Regions from separate parts of the Homo sapiens genome. Here regions 1 and 3 are each linked to region 2. The links are contacts of gene promoters, found by promoter capture Hi-C in blood cells and fetal thymus (Javierre and others, 2016). All regions are on one chromosome and are shown on one strand. Each heading gives the region's core, a stretch centred on a gene start or on the middle of the fragment in contact. The rest is flanking DNA. Distances are from core to core; before and after follow the strand shown.

Region 1 (3,871 bases), core at 130-2,629, 650 kb after region 2:
AATTAACACAGTCGGTAAAGATAAGGAAAAAGTCAGAAGGCACCACCCCATCACCACCCAACTGCAGTGTGGTATCCAAGGCCACAACTTGTGGGTGGTGACCGCAGCTTCAGAGATCAGATCCTTCCATCTTTCACCTTCATCCCGCTTCAGACGCTTTAAAAGTCTGAAAATAAACACTACTGTAGCTTATGTGTTGTCATTCTGAAATAAAGGCAGAGAACTACAAAGAATTTAGTGCGAGGCAAACATTCGTGTGCAGCATGAAGCAAACATACTTACATCTTTTGCCATGTTACCAGATCCGGGAAATCAATGCTACAAATGTTCACCTTCCCAGAGAAGAAAAATGATTTTTCTGGTAAAAAAAAAAAAAAAAGTAAGGAAAAACAAGAAATAAGTAAGAATGAAAAACGAAGTTTAAAAAATAACACATCTCAAAGGAAACGCGGACCTTCCTTCCCAAAGGCACCCTCCATCCTGAGAGCGGAGCTGGCCAAACCGACTCCCACACTCAGGATTTTCAGTCGCCTCGCCAGACGGAAATGCCCCCTGCGGAAAAGTGGCCCGCGGGCCCGCAGGGTCACCACCACTACCCCCAGGTCCCCGACGGCCCGCCCAGCGGCCGAGGGTGGGGCCGAGCCCCAGGAGCCAGGGCGCAGCGCCTCCCTCCCGCCGCTGCAGGGGGGTGCCCCACCACCCACCTGGGCACAGCCCCGGGGTCCCGGCGCAACGTGCAGGCTCGCGGCGTCCACCCCAGACCCCGGCGGCGCCCGCCCGGCTGACCGGTAACTCTGACAGGTGGGCTTCCGGGGTCCGCGCCGCGCGCCTGTCACTAGGCCTCGGGCCGCCTCCGCACGAGGCGCCTCCCGCGCGCGCCGGAACCGGGTCCCCGCGGGCCGCCGTGGGGCGGCCTCCCCTCCCCCGCCCTGCGCGCTCCGGCCGACCCTGGCCCCAGCCCCGGCCCCGGCCCCGGCCCCACCTCCAGCGTGGGGCGCGGACGCTGCTGTCGGCCGGGAGGGCCGGGCCCGGGACCCCCGCCCCGCGGTCACCTGGGGAGCCCCTACCAGCGCCGAGCGCGCGGGGTCCCCGAGGCACAGGAGCGCGCAGGGCGCGGGAGGGCGCGGGTCGGGGCCGCGCGGCGCCTACACGCGGCCGGGGCAAGGGATGGGGTGGCCGGGGGTCCCGCCCGCACCCCCGGCTCCCGCCCGCGGCTCCCGCGGCATCCCCTGCCCACCCGCACCTGGCTGCCCGGTCCGGCCGCGCGGGCGGGGACGCGGAGAGGGCGCGGTGCGGAGCGCGGGGCGGCGCGGAGAGGCGCGGGCTGGGGCCGGGCCGGGCGGTCCCGGCCGTGGCGGGGTCCCTGCCCTGGGCCGAGTGGCGCCGGGACGCGGGGCTCACCCTGGCCGAGCGTCGGGCCGGCGTGACGTGCGCGCGGCGCGGTGACGTGGGCGGCGGCGGGCCCGCTCCGCGCAGCGCGCCTGCGCGCCTTTTCGCGCCTTCGGCGCCCTCCTCCTCCTCTTCTGCTGCTCCTCGGTCTCCCGCTCCTCCCGCCAGTGCTGCGCGCCCTGGGAGAGCGGGGAGGGGCTGTGCGCGCGTGTCCGTGTGTGCGCGTGCGCGTGCGGAGATGTAGCTGGGGCCTGCGCCGGGACGGGCAGTGCGCGCGCGCGGCGTGCGCTCGGCGGCCAAGGGACTGTGTTTGTGCGCGCCTCTGACTGTGTGTGTCCGGAGAGAGAGGTGGCCGGCTGTGTGCAAGAGTGTGTGTGCACATGGGGGAGCGGGGCCGGCTATGTGCACGAGTGTGTGTGCATGTGGGGGAGCGGGAGCTGGTGTGTGCACGTGGGGGAGCGGGGCCGGCTGTGTGCAAGAGTGTGTGTGCACGTGGGGGAGCAGGGACTAGTGTGTGCACTAGTGCATGTGCACGTGAGGGAGCGGGGACTGGTGTGTGCACTAGTGTGTGTGCATGTGAGGGAGCGGGGACTGGTGTGTGCACTCGTGTGTGTGCATGTGAGGGAGCGGGGACTGGTGTGTGCACTCGTGTGTGTGCATGTGAGGGAGCGGGGACTGGTGTGTGCACTCGTGTGTGTGCATGTGAGGGAGCGGGGACTGGTGTGTGCACTCGTGTGTGTGCATGTGAGGGAGCGGGGACTGGTGTGTGCACTCGTGTGTGTGCATGTGAGGGAGCGGGGACTGGTGTGTGCACTAGTGTGTGCATGTGAGGGAGCGGGGACTGGTGTGTGCACTAGTGTGTGCATGTGAGGGAGCGGGGACTGGTGTGTGCACTAGTGTGTGCATGTGAGGGAGCGGGGACTGGTGTGTGCACTCGTGTGTGTGCATGTGAGGGAGCGGGGACTGGTGTGTGCACTAGTGTGTGTGCATGTGAGGGAGCGGGGACTGGTGTGTGCACTAGTGTGTGTGCATGTGAGGGAGCGGGGACTGGTGTGTGCACTAGTGTGTGTGCACATGGGGCAGCAGGTAGGGGGCCGGGTATGTCAGGATGTGTGTTTGTGTGCAGGGAGCAGAGAGTGCCGGCTGTGTGCGCGAGTGTGGGGGGGGGAGCAGGGACTAGTGTGTGCAGGAGTGTGTGTGCACTTGGAAGAGCGGGGCCGGGTGTGTGCTTGAGTGTGTGTGCTCAAAGAGGAGAGCCAGCTGTGTGTGCGCCTGTATGCACGGAGGAGAGGGGGCCGCTTGTGTGCACGAGTGTGTGTGCACATAAAGGGCCGACTGTGTGTGGGGCTGTGCATGTATGGAGAGCAGGTGTGTGCATAGACGTGTGTATGTGGACACACGGAGGAGAGCAGGTGTGTGTGCGTGCGTGGCACAGAGGCCTCTGCCTCTGCTGGACCCGGTGGCCTCCAAGCCCACGACGGGCCTCCGCCCAGATTCCCAACAATTCTGGGCGTCCTCGGTGCCCACCGGACGCAGCCTGGCCCGGGACTCGGGAGGGAAAGCAGGGACAGGAAAACTCCAGAAACAGTTTCATTGCATGGTGAGCCTGGTGGTCCCGGAGTCTTGGAGACTTAATCCACCCTGGAGGGCCCCGCCGCTAGGGCCAGGCCCGAGCACCCCAGCCAAGGGCGGGCTAGGCCAGAGAAGAGTCCGAAGTTCAGGGCCACAGCAGGCGGCAGAGGCTGGTGCGCGCCGAGGGTAAGGAACATCTACAGAGGACTTGAGGAGCTGACCAAAGGCCTCTCTGCCTGTGCGGTGTATTATTACATGACAGCCCACTTTGCACGTTTTATGCTGATTTTGGCCACTCCTGCCCCTCAGGCAACGCCGCACCCCCTAAAGCTCTGGTCACTTGGCTTAAACTGCTTACAAGTTAGCACCCGTTTCTTCTTTGAAGACTACCAGAAACGCTCACTTTCTGCGAGCTGGTTCACACAAATAGATACTTAGAGAACACTGATGTTCCTCAAATGGCCCTATCTTCCTAGGTCCGTTCCTTCTGTTTCACAGGGATTCTTTATGTGTTCCTAAATGTCAGTATTTGAGCCCTGATGGCAACAGTGACACCCTCCCAGCCTCTGGGGACTTCTCCCTGAGACCTGGGGGCTCCAGTTAGGAGGATACACACGTAGGGTCCAAAATTGGGGTCTTAAACGTCTTCCCCACAAATTCAGGATTCTGATAATTCAACAATGTTTATATGGCTGATAACTAATATTATTCAAAGAAGTTTCTGCACAAAAATCACTGTACTGAGATACTCCGAACGCGCACGAGGCACTGCGGCAATGAATGCTCACGGTGCTCTGTGTGGCTTAGGAAAAGGGCAAAAAGTTACTCCCTTTTTCCTCTCCATAGCCACATGTTCCACAGAAAGCCCTCGTTTCTCTTAACAAAAGTTAACAGAATTCCCTCTAAAATT
Region 2 (4,145 bases), core at 505-3,004:
CTGTTGCTGCATACCAAAAAAAAAAAAAGGTGGTAACTGCCCTGTTATTTTAATAGTCTTAAACAGTTATCTAATATTATTATAATTCTATGTAATATATTAATATAATTCTATGTAATAAATCTTCATCTCAAGACAACAATTTGTTACATCTCTATCTTACATCTCACGTAGGGTAAATTTTAGTTCAGTGTCGCAATACAAACATTCCTGTAATATCTTTGTATATGCAACTTATGAAGGTAATTTTTTAAAACTCATACACTGTAAAAATGTATCGTGAAACATACAAGTGAAATGCAAGTGAAACAGCAAAAGCTAGTCATTAACAATTCATGTGTGATTTATATAACACTTTCAACGAGCTGTTAATGAATCCCAAAGTGAAATTTAGAAGACAGAACACTATACTCAAATACCTTATATAACACAGTGGCAGTTTTAATAACACTCAAGTTTAAAAACACACACACATAAATTAACTAAGCTTCACTGAACATGGGGAAGAACTCACCTCCTCCAAGTCTAACAAAAATGAAGGAGCCGACAATGAGGGCCACCCACAGTGACCTACGGCTAGCTTTAGACCCTGTTCTGCTCCTCAGTCCTCAGTCTTCTACAGTCTCTGCCTCAGTTCCCCTGGAGACAAGCCAGGACCACTGCTGCTAGCCCGAGGCAGGAGGAATGCCAACGGGATAGTTATAAATATGCTCAATACCGGTGTCTCTGGCTGGAAACCGGGCCTGTCATATTCCTCACTACGTCTCCGTACCGAAGAAAAAGTGATCAGAAAACACTGAATTCAACTGACTCATGGTAAATAAAAACACAGCCCTCCAAATGGACTGCAAACATTTGGCCACGTCAGTTAGCACCCAATTCCGAAAACTCTGCATTACCATGGCTTTTCTTTCCCTTTCTTTCCAATTTCCTGAAAGAGCAAGCATTTCAACAAAAAATAAACAACAATATAGATAAAACTGATGCTGCTGATTCTCGAAGACACTTCTTGCCTTAAACGCTCTCTGCTATTCAAAGGTAGTGCAGAGAACACAGACATAGTTAACGAGAATTTTTAAAGTATTGATTTGAGACAACAGGCTTCTTCACATCTTTATTCACTTAAATTCAGCCCAGTAAAAATTACAACTAAACCTCTCAAAAATGTTTTATTAGCTAGCCCTGCAACTTTCCTCCAAAAATTGTCCTTCAACTTGCACTGAGTAGTCAGTGTTTCCTGGGCACCTCCTCCGCGCCAGGTGCAGAACGAGGCTCAGACCCGACTGAGGCGCCCCGTGCGCTCGGGGGCCTCCACTCCCCGGGCTGTGCCCCTCCCAGCTGCAGGGACCGCTCCCTTCTGGGCGAGGCGGAGACAGCGCTGCTGGCCCCAGATGAAGGCCCAGGGCCGGCCCAGTCCTTCCCCACCAAGAGCCCCGACAACAGTCACCCCAGCCCCACGCCGCGCGGAAAAAGACCCGGCGAGGCCTGGGCCCCGCACCCCGAGTCGGGGCCGCCCACCTGGTCGAGGTACTGCCGGACGCGCTTCCGCAGCCGCTCTAGGTTCATGGCGGCGCGGGCCCGGCCTCACGCCACACTCCGCCGCTAGGCGCGCGCCTCCTGCACCCTAAGCACCCCGCCCCGTGCCCGTGCCCGTGCCTGCAGCCGCCGCCGCCGCCCCAGGACTCGAAGGCCGCGGACTCGAAGGCCGCAGGTCCCCACCCACACCCGCACCCCCCACCCAGGCCCCGTGCACTGCCCAGGCTCTTCCGCTCCAGGCAGGCCCCGCCCCGGAAGTCCACAGCAAACGAATCCCATCTGGCGCGGGAAAACGGACCCGAGTTGTTGGTTCCGATGCCTCTCCTGGCACGTGGGCTTCTGGTTGCCTTGGGGCGAGAGCGCGGCCTCCCTGGAATCGCTGCGGCGCCTCTGGGCATTGGCGAGAGAGTCAGGAGGGCTCGGGGCCGGACCACCCACCCGGGCAAAAAAGCAGGTGGCTGCTGAGCCTTCTTTCCCCAGAATGTAGTCAACATTTTAAAAATAAGAGCAACGCACTCTCATTACAAAAAAAAAAAATTGTGTGCACAAACAGCAAATGAAGTCAAAGACAACCTAGGGAAAAATTTGAAACCTATCACAAAATTCGAATTTCCTTATAATGTAGAGCCAATATTCCCTTTACATATATGTAATAAGTCAGTGGGAAGAGACCAATGGCTCAGGAGAAAGACAGGCAAAAAACAGTTCACAGGGAAAGAAATGCAAATAGACTTTAACATACGAAAGAAAGTCCAACTTAATTCATAATAAAAATTAAAATTAGAGTACCACTTTTCATATGTTAACAAAGATCACAAAGGTTGATGACACTGCTAGCAGGAATGTCGGGAAGCAGGCACCCTCAAGTTTTGTGAGTGGTATTGGTATACTCTCTAGGATGAACGAATTGGAATATCTTCCAAATTTAAAGGTGTTCGTGCTGTTAAACCTAATGATTTTTATTTTGGGAAATATACCATGGATTTGCATTTTTGCATGTGTGCAAAATGACCTGTGGTTTCGTTTGTAATAGCAAAAGATTGCAGACAATTTAAACACCCATGAAGTATGGAACTGAGTAAATAGGTCATGATACGCTCACGTAATGGAATACTCGCTGGCTGTTCAAAAGAACAGTCAGCTTTGCATGGACATTGAACGATCTTCAAGATATAGTATGTGGGAAAAAGCAAGTATAGGATCGTGTTTATCGTATGCCTGCATTTGAGTAAAATACGAATTTAATGATAGGTAGAAAAATCCCTAAACTGTCCCAGGAAGGAAAAATGAGAAAACCGGCATAGCGCAAGGCCTCTGGAAGGAGTGCTGGAAGATGAGAGATGGTAGAAGTGGGAGAGGTACTTCCTTGGATATCTTTTTGTGCTTTTGAATTTCAGTCAATGTGCATATATTACCTTTTGTGAAATTAAATCATTCAAACTTAAAATAATTTAAACTTGAAGCTGTTGGAACTTTGAATTACCTGAGCCTTGAGGGGAATGTGGCTACGCGGCCTAGGTCATGCCACACCCAGCTGTAACTTCTGCCTTTTTCCCTGTAAACAATAAAGACCAAATGGCACCGGAGATAAGACCCCCTCAGATCACTACCCCTCCTCATGGAGTTATAACGCAATCTTCCTTCAAATACAGAGATCCCTAACCAATGGAACCGCTGCGGCGTGTGCCCCTGGTCTCATATGAGAACTGTGGTGATCCTGCTGGAGCTTCTGTCTCCGCCTGGTAAGAGAGACCTGAGCTCCACTTGGAAAGGCTGACCCCATTTGTCCAGGTGGCCATTCTCAGGCTCTGTGCTCAAATACACACTATATGTAATCATATTTCTGAATCTCAATATTAAGGTTGACACTTTTAAAAAGTAAATATAACTTTTATAAATATAAAAACCTAAAAGAGTAAAAAAAATTCAAAGAAGCAAAAAAAAAAAAACTTGCTGTAAAGAATCCCACCCACTCAAAAATTCTCTCACGCTACTGTAAGTAATCTGCCGTGTAATTTTCTATGTGTGTGTATACATATATGACTGGGTAATATTTTGAAGTTGTGTTTAAAAATTTGTCCCCCTGTATATTTCCTTTTCCTCCTCCTTTCCCACTTCTGCAAGCAGGCAGTAATCAACTCTGCTCATTAACTTGGGGCAGGCATGTGGTGAGGTGTGTTTTAAGCCATATTTTCAACGACTTCTATCCATTTAATGAGATTCCTAGTTAACCAAAAATGAGTGACTGAGGCAAATGTCTCCATCAGTAGAAGTCTGATGATGGGCCCGGGAAAAACGCAAGCCACAGAAGCATCAACTGTGCCATCCAAATAGGGTTATGGGGACTGGGTGTTTAGGAGGAGACGGCAAGCAGGAGGAAAAAAAGGGAGGGGTCCACAGTGATGCTCTGATTAGTGCTCAGTAAACCAACAATTTACATAAGATGAGGCAAACATCTGACAAGAGGGAGTAGAGGAAAGAGTTATGTAGCCCATATCAGGGTAGGCAGAAGAGTGACTAATCTCATCTTGTCCTTGTTTTGTACCTGGAAGGTAAATTTGTAATTAATATTGCCAGGGCGAGATTTAACAGAAATCACTTTCAGGAGT
Region 3 (4,384 bases), core at 479-2,978, 620 kb after region 2:
GGCCTGGTTTTTCCTGGGTTATGATTGTAGAGTGAGGATTATTGTAATATTGGAATAAAGAGTAATTGCTACAAACTAATGATTAATGATATTCATATATAATCATATCTAAGATCTATATCTGGAATAACCATTCTTGTTTTATATTTTATTATACTGGAACAGCTCGTGTCCTCGGTCTCTTGCCTCGGCACCTGGGTGGCTTGCCACCCACACCCCACCCCACGGCTGGGGGAGCTGAGCGGATAGCCCCCCATTTGAAAATACATGATACTCTCAGGTGAAGAAAACACAGACTTTCGGGTCACAACAACATCAGGAAAGAAGAACTCCCCGATCTCGCCACACCTTGGGCCTCCCCGGACGGCCGCCCATCCGCAGAGCTGCAGGACCCTGGACCTCCCCACAGGCATCTCCCTTCATTCCCACCAGTTAGCACCAAAATGACTCATGAATCATCGGTGAGACTTTCGAATACATTGCCTTTGCGATCTGAAGTTTCATTTTGGGGCCCTTTACAACCCATGCATTTTTAAAACATCTACTGCTTTTTATGCATTTCTTTAAAATATATTAAACAATGAATTTTGTGCTACATAAGGACACTTAGTAATTTCTCTTAATAACCTAAGTTGGCCAAGACAGATCATTAGGAAGTGATTAAAAAGACATTTGCCTTTTGATTCAACTGGGTTAAATATTAGTATTTTTACCAACCAATGTCAGCACATATTTAAAATTCTCTTCTGGAACTAAAATAAGATGATCTGCTTTGGGAAATTTTCTTCCAAAAATAAAGGTGTGCATCCTAAGAAAAGCAAATATTTACTTTTTTATTGTTTTATATATGTGAAAGGTATTTTCAGAATATTCAATTGAAAAGTAAAGATTGTACATATTCGAAATGTACCAGTGATGATTGGATGCACATATACACGGTGTAATACTTACCAGGGAAAGGCATTTTAAAAGCAAAAATAATATTCTACTATGCAGGGAATGATTTAAAGTACGCAATTAAACACTTTTCAGATTCACATACAGATGAGTAAACACTCAGTTTTCAAGAATATGTAGTTGATTCATTACAAAGATAACATCTTTTAAAATTTGCAAACGAGTCTCTAATTTCAATAAATGTGAAGAAAGAAACAGACCTCTGAGTTCACAAAAGCCAGTGGCACTGTCACTCTCCATCAGCAGCCCAGGCGGCTCTTTCCGTCCTGAACAGCCAGGCCACGGCGCCCGTCCACCAGCACCACAGGTAGCATACACTCAGGCATCCCAGTCTGGGGCTCCCCTTTCCTGCCCCATCAGGGAGTGTGGGTAGGACTCAGGGATTCAGGTGGTGGTGGGGCTGTGGGACAGCAGTGTAGCTGAGACCCTCGGGGCATCCGGCCTGCCCTCCATCTGCTCCACCCACAGGCCGGCCGGCTGGCCTGCCTACACCATCTGTCCTTCCAACCAGGTCTCTCCCTCTGGGCCAGAGGCCAGCACCGTGAGGCTGGGGTGGGTCGCTAAGGGTTTTCACAATTAGGAAGGGGGAGACAAACACACAGAGGGAAGAGGGTCCCTCCTCTGGTACCCAGGGCAGGATGAGTGAATGCAGGCAGACATCCAGGGCCCCTGAGCTTCCCCACTCACTCCTGCTGTCCACCTGGAGTCTGAGCCCCCACACCAGCTGCAGGTAAAGGGTTTCGGAGCCCAAGGCCTTGCCAAGCACAGAGGGCCCCTCCCAGCCTAGACACAAACCAACAGAGGACCTCTGAGTGGCACACCACACCAACCCAGCAGCACCCCTGGGTCACCAGCTGAGTCTCTACGGGACAGAGGGCAGGGTACGTACATCAGTAACAGGGAGAAGAAAGAAATCCTGAGGCTGAGGGTGAATACCCCCTGTCCGGCCCCGAGCAGCACTTCAGAAGGGCCTGGAGATAGGGGCTGAGCTTGCACAGCCACCCGACCACAGCGAGCAGCAAGGCCCCTCCCTGAATACATCTCAGACCCACACCCAGACGTACAGGCTGGAAAGGGCAGTGGCAGTGGCTTCTGGGGCCAGACCTGGGTGGGTGGGCTTCTTCTTTTTTTTTTTTTTTTTTTGTTTTTTTTTTGAGATGGAGTCTCACTGTGTCGCCCAGGCTGGAGGGCAGTGACATGATCTCGGCTCACTGCAAGCTCCGCCTCCCGCGTTCCAGCGATTCCCCTGCCTCAGCCTCCTGAGTAGCTGGGACTACAGGCACCTGCCACCACACTGGCTAACTTTTGTATTTTTAGTAGAGAAGGGTTTCACCATGTTGGCCAGGCTGGTCTTGAACGCCTGACCTCTGGTGATCCGCCTGCCTCGGCCTCCCAAAGTGCTGGGATTACAGGTGTTAGCCACTACGCCCAGCCGGGCTTCTTGTTTCTATTCACTGAGAAACTTTTCAAATACAAACAATAACATGACAATTTTATTCCAGTACACTTAAAATTCACTGTTATCATCATACTTGCTTCAAGTTTCATAGAGACATAAAGAGCAGAAATAAAATTACAGTCCCCAGGATCCTCAGCCTCCCCCCGAGTCTGCCCTGTGTGCAACTCCCAGGGCCTGCAGGGACGTACTCACTTTATTTTTCATACTTTTCCAGGATGTGCTGAACCTAAGGCTATAAATGATTGTTTTTGTGTGCGTCTGAAACACAGACAAATATTATATGGCTCGCATTCTGCAATTCTGCCAACATTGTGTTTCAGATTTACCCATACATAGAGCCGTCAGGCTGATTTCCTTAAATGCTGTTATGCTATGCCATTATAATAAAGTGGTCATATGAACACAGATGTCATATGAAAATGCTGTTTGTTATTACTGAACCACATGCTGTGTGTTTTCCTCGGCACACCTGCCACCAGGGAAGCCCGGGTCCCAGCGGCCGCTGTCCCAGAGTCCACCCAGCTCCCCAAGTGGTCATTCCAGGCCAGACGCACCAGTGGCAGCCAGGCTGCCGCTCCCCACCACTTTTTTTGTCCACCTCAGGATAGAATGTTATTTCAATTAGTAGTAGTAGTTGTTGTTTTTGAGACAGGGTCTCACTCTGTCACCCAGGCTGGAGTGCAGTTGTAGAATCTCAGCTCACTGCAACCTCCACCTCCCGGTTCAAGGGATCCTCCCACCTCAGCCTCCCAAGTAGCTGGTACTACAGGCTCGCACAACCATACCCGGCTAATTTTTGTATTTTTTGTAGAGACAGAGTTTCGCCACATCACCCAGACTGGTCTTGAACTCCTGAGTTCAAGCGATCCACCCGCCTTGGCCTCTCAAAGTGCTGGGACTACAGGTGTGAGCCACCACGCCCAGCCAATCATTTAGTTTTAATCTGGCAATATAAGTAGAGTAGAGTGTTCCACACATTTTCTTGATAAGACTGCCACACAATCTATGCATGGGAGGGAGGAGGGCTAACATTTCAGGGACAAGCTGAGTCACATGAAGACATGGCCCACAAGCCAACTCAATAGAAATAATATTGTTTCAACTGTAAAAGGCACTACACAGCGTTTTTCAAATGAACTAATTAAAAACATTTTATATACAGCATTTTAAATGGAGAATTCCTTTCTTGGGAAGAAAACTAGTTAAGAATATATATGGTCTCAGTTGCTATAATCCATTAACAGAAAAAGGAGTCTAAATATAGTATTCACGTTTTTATCATTACTAATCCTATTCTATTAATATCTATAGGGCTTAAGATAAATTATGAAACCATACAGTTTTGTATTTTCTGAAAAACAATTTTAACATCTTTACGTTGTCAGAGCCAGATGTCTAAGAGTTACTATTTTGCCCACCATGCTGGAGATGTTTTGTTTGCTTATCTGGCCAAGCACAACCCCTCTGCAGGTGAGCAGCTCTGCAGGTGAGCGGCTCTGCAGGTGAGCGGCTCTGCAGGTGAGCGGCTCTGCAGGTGAGCGGCTCTGCAGGTGAAGGGTTCTGCAGGTGAAGGGCTCTGCAGGTGAGCGGCTCTGCAGGTGAAGGGTTCTGCAGGTGAGCGGCTCTGCAGGTGAATGGTTCTGCAGGTGAAGGGCTCTGCAGGTGAACGGTTCTGCAGGTGAAGGGCTCTGCAGGTGAACGGTTCTGCAGGTGAGCGGCTCTGCAGGTGAGCGGCTCTGCATGTGAGTGCCTCTGTGACTGGCTCGCAAGCAGCATTTGTGCACACTTGACTGGCCACAACAGAATGTTCTTCTCTGTTGTCAGCACTGAGGAGGAAGCTCCTGCCTAAGCGACCACAGCCAGGCACCCGCTCCATGGAGACATTGCTCTCTCCAGACTCCATTCAGACTCAGGAAACCTGAGCTCCTGGAATGCAGGCTGAGGCAGCTCCCACACAAAAGCTATCTA

What was found. Contacts are between HindIII fragments. The CHiCAGO score rates a contact against its expected background, and 5 or more counts as called.
Region 1: the fragment with the promoter of TFDP1 here is called in contact with the fragment with the promoter of CDC16 in region 2 in 1 of 17 cell types (M0 macrophages); the score reaches 5.4 in M0 macrophages.
Region 3: a contact is called between a fragment that was not itself captured here and the fragment with the promoter of CDC16 in region 2, in 1 of 17 cell types (M0 macrophages). The highest score is 5.2, in M0 macrophages.

What each region holds. Positions count from the first base shown.
Region 1 is chr13:113,582,261-113,586,131 of GRCh38, reverse strand. TFDP1 (transcription factor Dp-1) reads right to left here and starts at 1,379. Exons shown (of 12, transcript NM_007111.5): 1 at 1,244-1,379; 2 at 283-358. The coding sequence starts at 294. RefSeq lists silencers at 547-916, 1,287-1,616 and enhancers at 1,585-2,556, 2,557-3,530. The HindIII fragment of the contact is 39,044 bases long and covers 1-3,871 here.
Region 2 is chr13:114,232,506-114,236,650 of GRCh38, reverse strand. CDC16 (cell division cycle 16) reads right to left here and starts at 1,754. Exons shown (of 18, transcript NM_001078645.3): 1 at 1,519-1,754; 2 at 1-6. The coding sequence starts at 1,566. RefSeq lists a silencer at 1,436-1,795 and an enhancer at 1,906-1,955. The HindIII fragment of the contact is 7,021 bases long and covers 490-4,145 here.
Region 3 is chr13:113,617,198-113,621,581 of GRCh38, reverse strand. All of the region lies in intron 3 of TFDP1 (transcription factor Dp-1), which reads right to left. Among named protein-coding and RNA genes, the nearest start is that of TFDP1, 35 kb to the right of the region's middle. RefSeq lists enhancers at 3,744-4,306, 4,307-4,384. The HindIII fragment of the contact is 6,326 bases long and covers 1-4,384 here.